Regions from separate parts of the Homo sapiens genome. Here region 1 is linked to region 2. Evidence: promoter capture Hi-C in 16 types of primary human blood cells and fetal thymus (Javierre and others, 2016). All regions are on one chromosome and are shown on one strand. The core of a region is centred on a gene start or on the middle of the fragment in contact, and the rest is flanking DNA. Distances in the headings are between cores, read along the strand shown. Region 1 has its middle 26 kb from the start of ZFP36L1. Region 2 holds the start of ZFYVE26 (zinc finger FYVE-type containing 26).

Evidence for each region. The method cuts DNA at HindIII sites, captures the fragments that hold promoters and counts their contacts. A CHiCAGO score of 5 or more calls a contact.
Region 1: a fragment that was not itself captured here is called in contact with the fragment with the promoter of ZFYVE26 in region 2 in 6 of 17 cell types (neutrophils, monocytes, total CD4 T cells and 3 more); the score reaches 13.7 in neutrophils.

The regions. Positions count from the first base shown.
Region 1 is chr14:68,815,978-68,822,775 of GRCh38, forward strand. No RefSeq gene overlaps it. Among named protein-coding and RNA genes, the nearest start is that of ZFP36L1, 26 kb to the left of the region's middle. RefSeq lists enhancers at 71-300, 317-1,056, 931-980, 1,081-1,130, 5,053-5,252 and 1 more and a silencer at 441-830. The HindIII fragment of the contact is 8,351 bases long and covers 1-5,950 here.
Region 2 is chr14:67,813,315-67,819,842 of GRCh38, forward strand. ZFYVE26 (zinc finger FYVE-type containing 26) reads right to left here and starts at 3,276. Exons shown (of 42, transcript NM_015346.4): 1 at 3,220-3,276; 2 at 2,456-2,732; 3 at 672-750. The coding sequence starts at 2,649. RAD51B (RAD51 paralog B) reads left to right here and starts at 6,465. Exons shown (of 11, transcript NM_133510.4): 1 at 6,465-6,528. RefSeq lists enhancers at 3,488-3,657, 3,708-3,807, 6,298-6,528. The HindIII fragment of the contact is 23,571 bases long and covers 1-6,528 here.

The sequences.
Region 1 (6,798 bases), core at 525-3,024, 1.0 Mb after region 2:
ATGCATCGGCCGCCTGCAGCCAGCTCCGCGGGGCCAGTCCCTGACCTCTGGCTCGGAGATTGGTGTGCCCGGTGAAGGAGTTGCCCAAGCATCTTAGGCAACCAGATACTACGCCTGGCCTTGGACCCTGCCACTTGCCTGCCCCACAAAAACCTGCTGACCGCTGTGACCTACTTTAACGCCCTCTGACTTCCCGCTCTTTGAATATGGGGCAAAAAGAAGAAGGGCGACTGGCACCATCCAATTCACTTGAGGCTCGGAGGCTCAGGCCTGCCTTCCTGGCGGCTACTGGGGTGGCGTTTCCCAGCACCCCCGGGAAGCTACCAAGGTCCAGGGCTCTCCTGGGCTTCTGCGACGCCCACGCACTCCTGCGGCCGAGCTTCGCGGTCGGGCTCTCCCGTCGCCACCCCGGCGTCTGCTCAGCCGCGAGCGAGAACCAAGCCGGGCCGGGCGCGGGGCCCGGGCGAGGCCGCCAAGATGGCCGACGCGCTCGGCAGCGCGCGGATCACGCGGGAAGGCTGCCCTTGGCCTCCCGGGAAACAGCCAAGGTTCCGCCGCCCTCCTTGGCGCTCTGCCCCGGCCGGCCTGCCGGGATCTCCTCCCCGGCGCGGTCTGCGGCTCCCGGGGCCTCGCAAACCTTCCAGGCCCGAGGCCATCCAGACGTGCACACCAGGCCCGGCCCGCGAGGGGAGACACAGGGGCCGGGGCTGCGGCGGCTGAGCTCCCTGGGCGGCTCGGAACGCAAGGGGCCGGCGAGCCGACGCTGCTGCAGGAGGCTGCGGCGTGGGGCGAGGTTCTCGCTACGGCTTCGTTCCCGTCCTCCCGCGGCCGCTCTCCCCCGGAAGCCCTCGGAGGCAGCACGATGGACGTGGCCACACTGCCCTCCAGTGGCCAGCTCGCCGAACAACACGTCTGGGCCCCTTTTGGGGGTCTGGGTGACGTGTCCACCCTCTCTCTGCCCTTTGCTACATTTGAAGGTGGGGTTTGCTCATCCATGGTTCCTCTTACAGGTCACCAAAGCTGCCACAGTGCACACTCACCCAACAGCAGGGGATTTGCCGCCTTCGGTGGTTCTCAAACTTCAGTGTGCACAGGAATCCCCCCTTGGACAGTTCTTTCAAACCCGGATTGCTGGGTCCCCCAACCAAGTCAGAGAATTTGCATTTCTAACAAATCCTCAGGCGATGCTGAGCTGCTGGTCCGCTGGTCCTGGAGCCACACTTAGAGAACCACTGGCTCGGCTCACTCTTTCTCTCACGGGGTTTCTGTCATCTACTCATTTAATACAGAATATGTCCTGCTAGCCCCGGAGGACGAGTGGACGGAACAACTTTCTCACCCCTCGCGGAGCTTAGTCTAACGGAGGAGACAGACTTGTTTCAACAAATCACCTAGAAAGAAATATAAGATTCCATTTGAAAAGACTTTCAAATTCCTATGAAGGAAAAGAATCAGGTGCTCAGAGAACATATATAAATGGGGCACTCATTTAGATTTGGGATGGGAAGGTTCTTGAGGAAGACCTCTCTGAGGAAACCCTTAAGCTGAGGCCAGGAGGAGGGATGAGGTCCTGAGGGGAATGGGGAGGGGACTGGAACTGGCAGGAGGAGCAGGTAAGATGCAGACCCTGTCTGTAGAAGCAGAGACTGGTAGGGGGCCAGGCAGGGGGTCACAGCCTCCTAGGCCCATGCCTCTGGTACCCACAGAGCTGCCTCCTCAGAAGGGCAGCATCCAGGGGAGAAGAGGGCCTGCCTGCATGCTCAGATCTTAGCTACCCCCGTCAGTGCCAAGAAGAATGCTCCACCTTGAGGAACCCCAGCCAGGTGCCCACAGCCCACAAACTTCTCTTTGCCTGAGCAGATTTATGTAGGTACCTTCTGTAAGGCCTGAAGGGCAGTCACATCTGATGGAACCAGGTCTGCTGAGTAATGATGAACAGACATGATGTTACCATCTACCCATCAATGCCCTCAGTGTGCCATCTCCTCCCTCCTGCAGTCCAGGATCCAGCTGTTTCTCCAATGAGCATTTTTAAGCACCTACTATGTGCTCTGCACTAGGATCACTGCAATGCTCTGTGGGGCATGGCACAAAGAGGCCAGCCTGCCCTAGGAGGCGCCAAGCACCCTGGAGGGCAGGTAGGTGGAGTACACCCTCCCCGCCCCAGTCTCAGCTCCAGCCTGCTGTGTGCACCCCCACCCCACCCAAACATCCCTGGGGTCACTCATTGCAGGTGGGCCAGGCTGACAAATGGCAGCCAGGAATTCTAGTGTTCTAATGATTCTTACTTTGTATCAATGCCAGCTTGATGGCAGGGGCCAGGATGACCACCAACCACTGCCACTTTATCCCTTGTGCTGACAAGGAGGTATCATCCCATTAATCCTGTTACCTTGCTCAGTCCCTTCTGTCCCGTTTTCACATCTGAAAAATGTGGGGTGCGGATGAGTTGTGTTAGATGATCTCCAAGGGTTTCTGATCCATGCCTAGCCCACCAGTGCACTGTTGGAGAGATGGACGAGAACAGCCCTGCCCAATGACCCCATGACCCTAGCATTATGCAAAGCAAGGCCTTTGTCGTTAACAGACTCCAGGTTAGGGGAAGGGAGCGGGGAGCAGCTGAAAAACTATGTGCAGCTTTAGAATCAATCAAATCAATCCAACTCTATTCCTGACTCTGTGATAGCCAGTAAGTGGTTTAACTTCTCTGAGCCTGTTTCCTCATCTGAGAAATGGGAATAGCATGGTACCTACCTCACTGGGCTGTTCTGAAGATTACTGATAATAGCTACCACTTAGCAAGTGCTTGATCCGTGCCAGGCAGCACACTAGAGGCTTCCCATCCACTCCATGAGGTCATGTGCAGAAGTACTGGTCCCATGCCAGCAAGGAGTAGGGCTCCATCACAGTTGTTAACGCATGACACCCCTACTGCTCTGCACACATATATTTATGTAGTCCTACGGCCCTACTGCTCTGCACACATATATTTATGTAGTCCTACGGCCCTACTGCTCTGCACACATATATTTATGTAGTCCTACGGCCCTACTGCTCTGCACACATATATTTATGTAGTCCTACGGCCCTACTGCTCTGCACACATATATTTATGTAGTCCTACGGCCCTACTGCTCTGCACACATATTTAACAGGCGAAGGGGCTTAGCAAGCTCTTGGCACATAATAAGCACTCAATAAACGGTGGGCTTCATCATTAGCCAGAGAGAAGGGACTCTGTGAGGAGGTCCTACAGAAGGAGAAATATGGAGAAGTGGGTGACCCAAGATGATGGCTCACACACCTCTCCCAGGAGGGCCAGCCCCATGCCTAGCTAGGCAGTTCCCTGGCTAGGACGTCAGCTCTTACTCACTCTTTCCAGAGAGCAGCTAATTAGCCTCCCAGCAGCCAGGAGCTCTCCAGATGAAAGGTGCTTAATACAAGCTCAAGGCGTAACTCCCATATGTATAACTAAGGTTCCCTGAGGTGAGGAAGGCCCCAGGGCGGAGAGACAGGCCAGATCAGGGCCTCGCCTTCTTTATGACGGAGGTTCCCAGGGAAGGGAGCCGGCTGGGGTGGCAGTGAGCCTGAGAAAGGGCTCGGGGTGGTGGGTGTGCGGCTTCAGAGGGAGCCCCTCCCTGGGAGTGGGCGGGGCCCGGTGGCTGAGGAGGCAGAGTGAATGCTTCAGGGCCCAAGCTGCCTCCCAGAGTGGGAGCTCCAGGTCAGAAGACAGCTTAGAACTGGGTGGGTCAGAGCGAGGGCTTTGCTGCTGGGCTGCCAGGTCAGAATCCCAGCTCTGCTATGGCCATTCCATGTCCCAGAGCCTCAGCTTCCTCCTCTGTAAAACGGAGATAATGATAACATTGACCTCACAGCTATTTACTGACAGCACTTAGTACAGACAGGACCTGGCACCCACTACGTAAAGAATGAGGATTTGTACATTTGTTCATTTAACAGATATTTATTGAGTACCTGCTATGTGCCAGGCACTGGGTGTTAGAAATACAGTCATGAACAAAACAGATCCATTTTCCCTTGATTCTGTAGGGAAGATAGACCACAGACCCCAGAACCAAGAGATCGGTAATACACTGCCTGGCAGTGACCTGCGCTGTGGGAATCGGGTATGAGGATGGGGTCAGGTGTCCAATACAGCGGCAGAAGAGCAGGTACCCAGGCAGATATGGGCAGATTAAGAAACGAACCAGGGTTGAAGGGCCAACCCAAAGTGCGCAGCAAATCAGAGGCGGGAGCCTGGGCCTGCAGCATAGGAATGTTCACCCACAGCTGCTGAAGCAGCCGCAGCAGCTCCCTCTGCCCCTGACTAAGGGGTGTGCCCAGCGAAGCCACCTGCCCTCACCTCCCCCTTGGCTCCTGCCCCTGACTCCCGCAGTCTGGAGTCCAGCAAGGCAAGGGAACTGACACAGCCCCCAGGGTCACGATGGCTTCCATTCTTTGACATTCACCAGTGTCACTGGCTGAGCTCAGGCTACACGGCCATCTTCTCTTTGAAGCCTCCAAACCAGCTGGTGAAGTCAGTAGCACCCCTGTGTTTTTTATCAAGGTAAGGTTCACATAACATAAAATGAAGCATTTTAAAGTGAACACTTCAGTGGAATTTAGTATATTTACAGGGTTGTGGAACCTCCGCCTCTGTCTAGTTCCAAAACATTTTTATCACCCCAAAAGGAAACCCATACCCACTAAACAGTTGCTCTCCTTTCCCTCCTCCCCCAGGCCCTGGAAACCACCCTCTACTTCCTGTCGCTATGGGGTTGCCTATTCTGGATACTTCACCTATCCAGAGCTTTTGTGTCTGGCTTCTGTCACTTAGCATCATGTTTTCGAGGTTTATCCAGGTTGTAACATGTATTGTTATTACACCTTGGTCTATGGCTAAATAATGTTCCATTGTCTGTAAGCACTCCCATCTTACAGATGAGGAAACAGTCCCGAGGCGCTGAGACTCCCAGCTTGAGTCCACACCGGAGAGACATGGTCCGTGCAAGCCTGCTCCCCAGATGGCCCCATCCTGGCACTGCCGTCTGGGAGGAGGCTGCCCCTGGGGGCATGCTGGTCCCTGAGTGGTGACCTGACCCCTTCTGAGGTTCACTTCTCAGCGCAGGTTCACTTCTCAGCGCAGGTTCACAGGCGAGGGTGCTCTGGCCTCCCAGTCACCCTGATCCAGGCAAGACCATAGCGTGGCCGCAGGGGCCGCCTCCTTGGGGGAATTCCAGCCCCTGGCCAACCACAGACCATAGCACTCCCGGGGGTTGAACCGTTTCTCACAACTGGGTTGTGACAGCTGGGAGGTGCTCAACCCTGGGGGCCAGCCTGGTGGCAGGCCGGGTTGGGAACGCTGTTCCCAGCCAGCTTCCCTAGGCAACATGGCCAGCCCCGTCCAGCAAGTGGACCACTCAGATGGCAGGCATGTACTGAGCACCCACTGTATACCAGCCAGGCACCACGAGGCCTCCAAGGAGCTCCCTTTCTGATGAGGATGAGCCACCCCAGAACAGAAACTGGGTGCTGGGGCCAGGGGCAGGACAGAGGGGTGCTCCGGAGAACAAGCACCAGCACTGAGCCTGGGGAGTTCCCCGCTGGCAGCGCCTGACACAGCCCACACCGGGGATCCCTGGCCTCAGGAAAGCAGGGCTGTCACATCAAGAAGGCCATGACATAAGGGCCCCTACCAACGTCCAGCCTTAGGTGGAGGGCACAGATATGGCAATACACAGGACCCTAGAATGCCTGCCTGGGGATGCCCACCTTGGCCCACTTGATGGCCAGTTGAGACTCAGTGTGCACTGTCCACACACCCTGTTCTGACACTGACTGCCTAGTGTCCAATTATTCTTCCATCTCACTCATTCAGTGCCAGTTACTCTACTGAGCAATAAGGATATAACATTTTAAAAACAAAACAAACATGTTCCTGTCCTCTAGAAGCTTAAAATAGAGCAAACTGAGAAGGAAACTAATAATGACCACCTTGCCAGGGGCAAGGAGACCAGAGGCAGGGCCCTAACCCACGGGCAGCTGCAGCTGGAATATATGAGACAGTGTGTGTGTGCTCACATGTCCACAGCCGAGCTCACCTCCAGACAGTTATGCACCCCTACCGCTCACCCCATCCCACCTCATCCTCACCAAGGCAGGTCTACTCAGTAAGTCAGGCTGAAAACATGAGCCTGGGGAGTTGGGACTTCTTAACTGCCACCCCCACCTGCACCCCATCCAGGATGAAAGAAGCATTATCCAGCAAGGACATGGCCACTGAAAGTGCCACCAAGGACCGGCCAAGGGGAGGGGAAGGGCTCCCTACAGCCCTTCCCCTGCTGGCTGAGTTGAATGGCCAGGGACTTACCCAGGCTGGTACAAAGCCACTGGCCCCAGGGCCATCCCCTTATAACACAGCACTTCCTGGGTGTCAGTGCATGCTGAGTATGTCACGTGTATTTCTTAAACCACTAAGATTTTACCAGTGACTTATCCAAGGTCACCAGGCCAGTGTGTAGAAAATTTGCATTCTGGTGTGAGCCACTCAAAGGTCCACACCCACATTTCTACACATCCCCTAATAAAAGCCAAGGGGCCCACAACGCTCCCCTGTGAACCTCACATGGCTGCCTGTCTAGGGGAAATGAAGGAAATCCCTTCACACGGAGCCCCTGCCCCAGCCGTGCTCCAGTCCCTCTCTTTTCCCCTGCCCTAGCTGACCCCACAGCTAAGCCCACCTTTTGGCATTCAGGGTGCACCTCCTGCCCCAGGGAACTCCCAGATGAGCTGGAGGGA
Region 2 (6,528 bases), core at 2,026-4,525:
TCATTTCTAAGTTAGAGGTTCTTCACTTAAATCTCAAAGTCTGAAGTTCAATATGAAAATGTCTCAGAGTAATTCTTTTATAAGATATAAATTTCTGATAATTAACATACTTCTAAAAGGACTTTTAATGGAAGTTTATCTTTAAAAAAGGTAATTCCTTACCAGGTTTTTTTTTTCAATATTAATTTGCTTACTTGTTTTTATATCTGGTAATTTTCTGTTCAATTCATGTGAATTATTAAACTATGAATTAATGGAATTTGAATCTATGAGATGTCATGGAATTAGGCTAGTTAAAATATGATTTTTGGAAGAAAAACCAAGTTTCAGCTCAGCCCATTCTCTATTACTTAAATGTTGAATAGATCCAAATGTTACAGATTCATATTTTATTTGCTATTTTGTTACCTTCACTGAGTTTCCAAAAGTTCTCTTTAGGCACAAGACTCATGGTGGTATTTAACAAACAGTAATATATGCCAATGTATATTAGTGCATTAATGAATGAATTTAGGTAAGGAGACAGCAATAAAAATTTAAGCCATTCTTTGAGAATGAGTATGATGAATTTAATGATAAAGGAAGTAACAGACAGAAGGGAAATCCCACAACTACTTTCAAGTTCTTCTCAGTCCTGGCCTCGGAGGAAAATTTAATATAAACCTACTTACCTTTTCCCGGGCCAACCATTTCTCCAGTACAAGAAGCCAGACCCAGGCTACTCTTTGAGGGTTGATGTCCTGCCCACATCTGAAAAAGGTAAAAAGAAAGACTTGTAAAAAAGAGTTTCTACTGATCTTTCATCTTTTGTCATCCAAGACAGATTTCATTGCTTATTCTGTTTTAAACCTGAACAGGCAAGACACTGCCCTAATGAGATATTTTTAAATGTATATGACAGTTCAGTAAAACATTGGAACCAGGCCAGGCAAGGTGGCTCACACCGGTAATCTCAGCACTTTGGGAGGCTGAGGTGGGTGGATCACCTGTGGTCACGAGTTCGAGACCAACCTGGCCAACATAATGAAACCCCATCTCTACTAAAAATACAAAAATTAGCCAAGTGCGGTGGCAGGCGCCTGTAGTCCCAGCTACTCGGGAGGCTGAGGCAGGAGAATCGCTTGAACCTGGGAGGCGGAGGTTGCAGTGAGCCTAGATCATGCCACTGCACTCCAGCCTGGGTGACAGAGCAAGACTCTGTCTCCAAAACAAACAAACAAACAAACAAACAAACAAACAAATCAGAACCAGAACAGAGCTAGCAGCTTTCATAAAAAGCCTTAATCTCACCTCCACCTCCTTATCTTAGTTTAAAATAAAATAATATTCGAGAAAACCATAATAGCTAATACTATCTGAAGCATATTTTTAATACAGAAAGTGAATCAGACAGTCTTAAAAAAGGAACTTCATACAAATTTATTTTTAACTATATGCTAAAAACAGGACTTTAGGAATTCATAAGCCTTTCTTTGAAGTTAGGAATTTAGACGGTAACTGGCTAGATCTCAAATTAAAGGAGAAAAAGAAAAGGAAGGGATCACTTAAGTTTCTCCATCGTATATGTGCTAATACAATATGTAAACAGTATAGCATAACAGTCAAAGGAAGGAAAACCCAAGGAAAGACTTAAAACGGTACATTTGACTCCTACATCACCAGTGGTTACTAGCATCACCAGGAGGAACTTCATTGAAAATCAAGGATGGAGAACTGTGGTTGCCAGGGAACAAGGAGGGGTTGTTGTATAAATACAAAGAGGTAGCACCAAGGAGTGAGGGAATTCTTTTGTGGTAATGGAACAGTTCTGATCCTTATTACAGTGGGATTACATGAATCTATATATGGATAAAACTGCATAAAACTACAAATGAAAAAATGAAGGCAGATTAAGAAAATGCTGAAAACCAAATAAACTCTGTAGTGTCATTTAAAGTAATGTGCCAATGTCAATTTCATGGTTTTGATATTGTACTACAGCTGTATGAGACGTCGCAATTGGGGCAGACTGGGAAAAGGATACGCTGGACTCCATTATTTTTGCAGCTTCTTGTGAGACTGCAATTATTTCGAAATAAAAAGTTTTAAGTAAAGCGACAACAATATTTTCAATCTCATAAGCAAGAAGAGAGCAGGGTTTGCTTTTTTGGAGGCAAAGAAAATAGTTTTCAATGCAGTTCCACCATCTATATTAACGAGGATAAACAAGAAATGGCAGTTTCAGGCACACTTTGGCAGCCAGGCTTACATTCAGTTGCAGATGATAATCAAAAGCCAATATTGACTAAGTAATGGATGTATACTATAGAGGTAAAATTTCAGAGCACGTGAAATACACTGTGCCTCTGCTTATTCTTCAGAGGGTAGTTGAGTGGGGGCACATTGACCAATGCCCAAATATTGAACCACATGTCTCTCACCCTGGGACCGTCTGGTAGGAAAAGAGATCCCTTACCTCAGCAGATTTGGACACACCACCAATGCCTGAAGTATGTCTTCTACCCTCTTTGGGATATCCCCTTGTCCCTCCTGTAGCTGAGGTACACATGCCTGTGCCAGCTCCCATTCTCCCCTCCGCAGGCATTCGCAGAAAAATCCAAAAAGCTGCTTCTGCGAAGCAGCTTCCTCTTTTCCAAATGGATGATTCATTTTCCCAGCACAGAGTGCAGGGAGATACAAAGAAATGAGTTATGCCGAACACATTCTCAATGTTCTCATTCGCGGAGTACCTCCTAGAAACAACACAACGCCAGTGAGAAGAAACAGAAGGCACTGTATTAAGACAAAGCAGCAACTACTGGTCCGCCTGGGAAAGGCGGGACTTGCTTGCCTAAGTATCGTTTTCAGTTTAATTTCCCACGTTACTTTTTGAAAACACTTTCTTCAAGGGGTGGATCCCATCTCTTCACGCGGATTCCTATATTTAATAATATTAATAGTCATATTTGCTCCGGGCGCAGACCCATAACTCTACGTCCGTATTCCCTACTGAACGTTATGCCCAGTCTTGACTCCAAATCCCCAGGTGGTCGCCTCCTCAAGAATGAGAAATTCAGCAGGAACCTCCCTAGTTTGAGCCCTCTGTTAAGGCAGAGGATTGACGACCAGGAGACGAATCTGTGTCATAAGTGGAAAGCAGTGTGGGGGTGGGCCGCAGGGACGCTCTCTGCGGGGGTCGTGGAGAGGGGCCCCTCCCTCTCAGGGGTGTCTTACACTCACCTGCTCCCGGCGCCCAAAGCAATAGAGCTCTCAGCGCAGCCATGTTTGAGCCGAGTCAGGTGACAGAACCCACTCCGAACAGCGGTGGTGGGGGTGGTGACAAAGACTGAAAGCCCCACTCCTATTGGCTCAAGGCAGGGAAGATGAAAATTAAGTGCCATATTTGTTTGAGTCACGTGACGCCACCTCTCCGGGAGTAGGGAAAGCTAGAAAGCTCGGAAAGAGGAAATCAGCTACCTGGCTGCGGACCATCTCCCTCAATTGTGACAGCTCCGGCGCTCAATACTTTCAGTTCTGCATTCGGCCGAGCAGGTGGCAGGAAGAACTGTGACCCTGGATTTTTTTTTTTCTTCCACTCTCTTATCTCCTTAACATGTGAAGTCAACATTTATTGAACGCCAACCAGTGATGGTGTTTTGCCAGGCGCGGGGGATACCCGGAGCTAGGAGAACTGGGTTCTCCTCCATTATTATTCTATCTACTGGGCTCTTTTGTTCCGGAACTCTGCGGTCTGAATTTCCATATTCTTCTGCTTCACTCCATTCATTTATTTGCACATTTACCCTACAACTGTTAATTGAACGGTGTGCTAGGCTTTATTTTATTTTTTTAGAGACAGAGTCTCTCTGTCGCTGGAGTGCGGTGGTGTGATCTCGGCTCATGGCAGCCTCGAACTTCCTGGATCAAGTAATCCTTAAGCCTCAGCCTTCCTGTAGTAGCTGGGACTAGAGGCGCGCGCCACTACACCGGGCTTAGGCCCTATTCTCTAAGTTGAGTAAATGGAGGTCCTTCTTCTCAAGGGAGATGCAGGCCAAAAATTAGGAGACGGTGGGCTAAATTATAAGACAGAAGTATGCATAAGAGATCAGAGAGCAAAGAATGAGCAAAGGCTTTTTCGCAAACACAATAATCTGAAACCAAGTCTTTTGTTTTGAGACAGAGTCTCGCTCTGTCTCCCAGGCTGGAGTGCAATGGCGCGATCTCGGCTCGCTGCAACCTCCGTCTCCCGGGTTTAAGCGATTCTCCTGCCTCAGCCTCACTGTGTAGCTGGGATAAGCGATTCTTCTGCCTCAGCCTCACTGAGTAGCTGGGATTTACAGGCGCGCGCCACCACACCCGGCTAATTTTTGTATTTTTAATAGAGACAGGGGTTCACCATGTTGGCCAGGCTGGTCTCGAACTCCTGACCTCAGGCAATCCGCCCACCTCGGCCTCCCAAAGTTCTGGGATTACGGGCGTGAGCCACCGTTCCCAGCCTGAAACCAACTCTTGAAGTAACGGCTTACTAGGTTTGCTCACCACAGCTGCCTTACACCAAGCCTTTTGTTTGGTTTCCCTGGTGTGCTTTAATCACAGACTCTCAGCTTTCCTCACTATGTGTGTTTCAGGTTTAGTAATTTCATTCAGCATTTCCCAAACTATTTAATCACCAAAGGGTGGTGAAAAGAGCAAGTTAAAACAAACAAAACGTTTTCTTCCAAAAACTCTTCTGTGATTGGTGGATTGTCCTCGATTCCTGAGAAAAGTAACATGGCTTTCTGGCCCATTAAGGTTTTTTTTTTTTTTGAGGCAATGTCTGGCTCCTCTCACCTCAGCCTCCCAAGTAGCTGGGATCACAGGTGCCTGCCACCATGTCTGGCTAATTTTTGTATGTTTAGTAGAGGCGGGGTTTCGCCATGTTGGCCAGGCTGGTTTCGAAATCCTGAGCTCAAGTGATCTGCCTGCCTCAGCATTCCGAAGTGAAACCGCCTTTGCAAAATTATAACTGAGGAAATTATGACAGTGAAAGAAATCAGACCTAACCGACTCTATCTTGCTTCTAACCGTTAAGCTGTCCTTGTTCATTCCTGGGCGTAGGCTGAACTAACTTTGGGGAGGAATTCAGTTCATGGTTTGACTCTGAAACAAAATTGATAACAGCCCTTTCCGAAAAGACCCACTTCTTGCCTGGGGACCAGTCTGCCTTTGCAGGACTAACAAATTAGCTACAAGTTTAGAAATTACAGTTTAGAGGTCATGCAGCCTCTGGCTCCAAGAGTCTGAACCTCCCCAAATTGCTCCCGGGGGTGACATCACTATTGCAAGCCCTAAGATCAGTGCTTGAGATATTTTGTAGACCCTGCACTCCATGGATCAGCTGACACCACTCAGACCAGTAATTTGGCGCAACCAGTTTTGCCATCACACCCAGGAACAGAAGACATTAAGAAAACCTCACTTCGACCCCTTATGATTCCATCTCCAACCTGACCAATCAGCACTCCCCACTTCCTAAGCCCCTACCAGCCAAATTATTGGTAAAAACTCCGATCCGCAAATGCTCGGGACAACTGATTTAAGTAACAATAAAACTTCAGTCTTCCGCACAGCTGGCTCTGCGTGAATTACTCTTTCTGCATTGCAATTCCCCTGTCCTGATAAATCGGTTCTGTCTAGGCAGCTGGTAAGGTGAACCCATCGGGCAGTTTCAAAAGTGCTGGGATTACAGGCATGAGCCACCGCGCCCAGCCTATTTTTTGTATTTTTTTGTAGAGGCGGAGGGGTGGGGGAGGGTGTCTCACTATGTTGCCAAGGCTAGTCTCGAACTCCCAGGCTCAAGTGATCCTCCCGCCTCGGTCTCCCAAAGTGCTGAAATTACGGGCGTGAGCCACTGCGTCTGGCCCCTTTAAGCCATTGTGAAAAGTGATGATACACGAAAAAAAAGATTTCCAGGGCCGAGAGCGGTGGATCACGCCTGTAATCCCAGCGCTTTGGGAGGCCGAAGCGGGCGGATCACGAGGTCAGGAAATCGAGACCATCCTGGCTAACACGGTGAAACCCCGTCTCTACTAAAAATACAAAAAAATTAGCCGGGCGTGGTGGTGGGAGCCTGTAGTCCCAGCTACTAGGGAGGTTGAGGCAGGAGAATGGCGTGAACCCAGGAGGCGGAGCTTGCAGTGAGCCGAGATCGCGCCACTGCACTCCAGCCTGGGCGACAGAGCGAGACCCCGTCTCAAAAAAAAAAAAAAAGAAAGAAAAAAGAAAAATTTCCAAACAGGGTGTTCCCTTGTTTCACATTCTCTTTGGTGATGGTCCTGCAACAGATTTTGATAATCACTATATTGAGAAACTGCTTCAGATTCGATCTGTTAGGCTGATCATAGTATTAACTACAATTCCCAGCAAGCCGCGGAGCCAACCTGGGCCTCTGCCGGCCTCTGATTGGATACAGTAGCCAGAATGACGACTCAATCAGTGCTTCGGTTGTTGCTTTGCGGCGTTTTCCGCGGGGAAACTGTGTAAAGGGTGGGGAAACTTGAAAGTTGGATG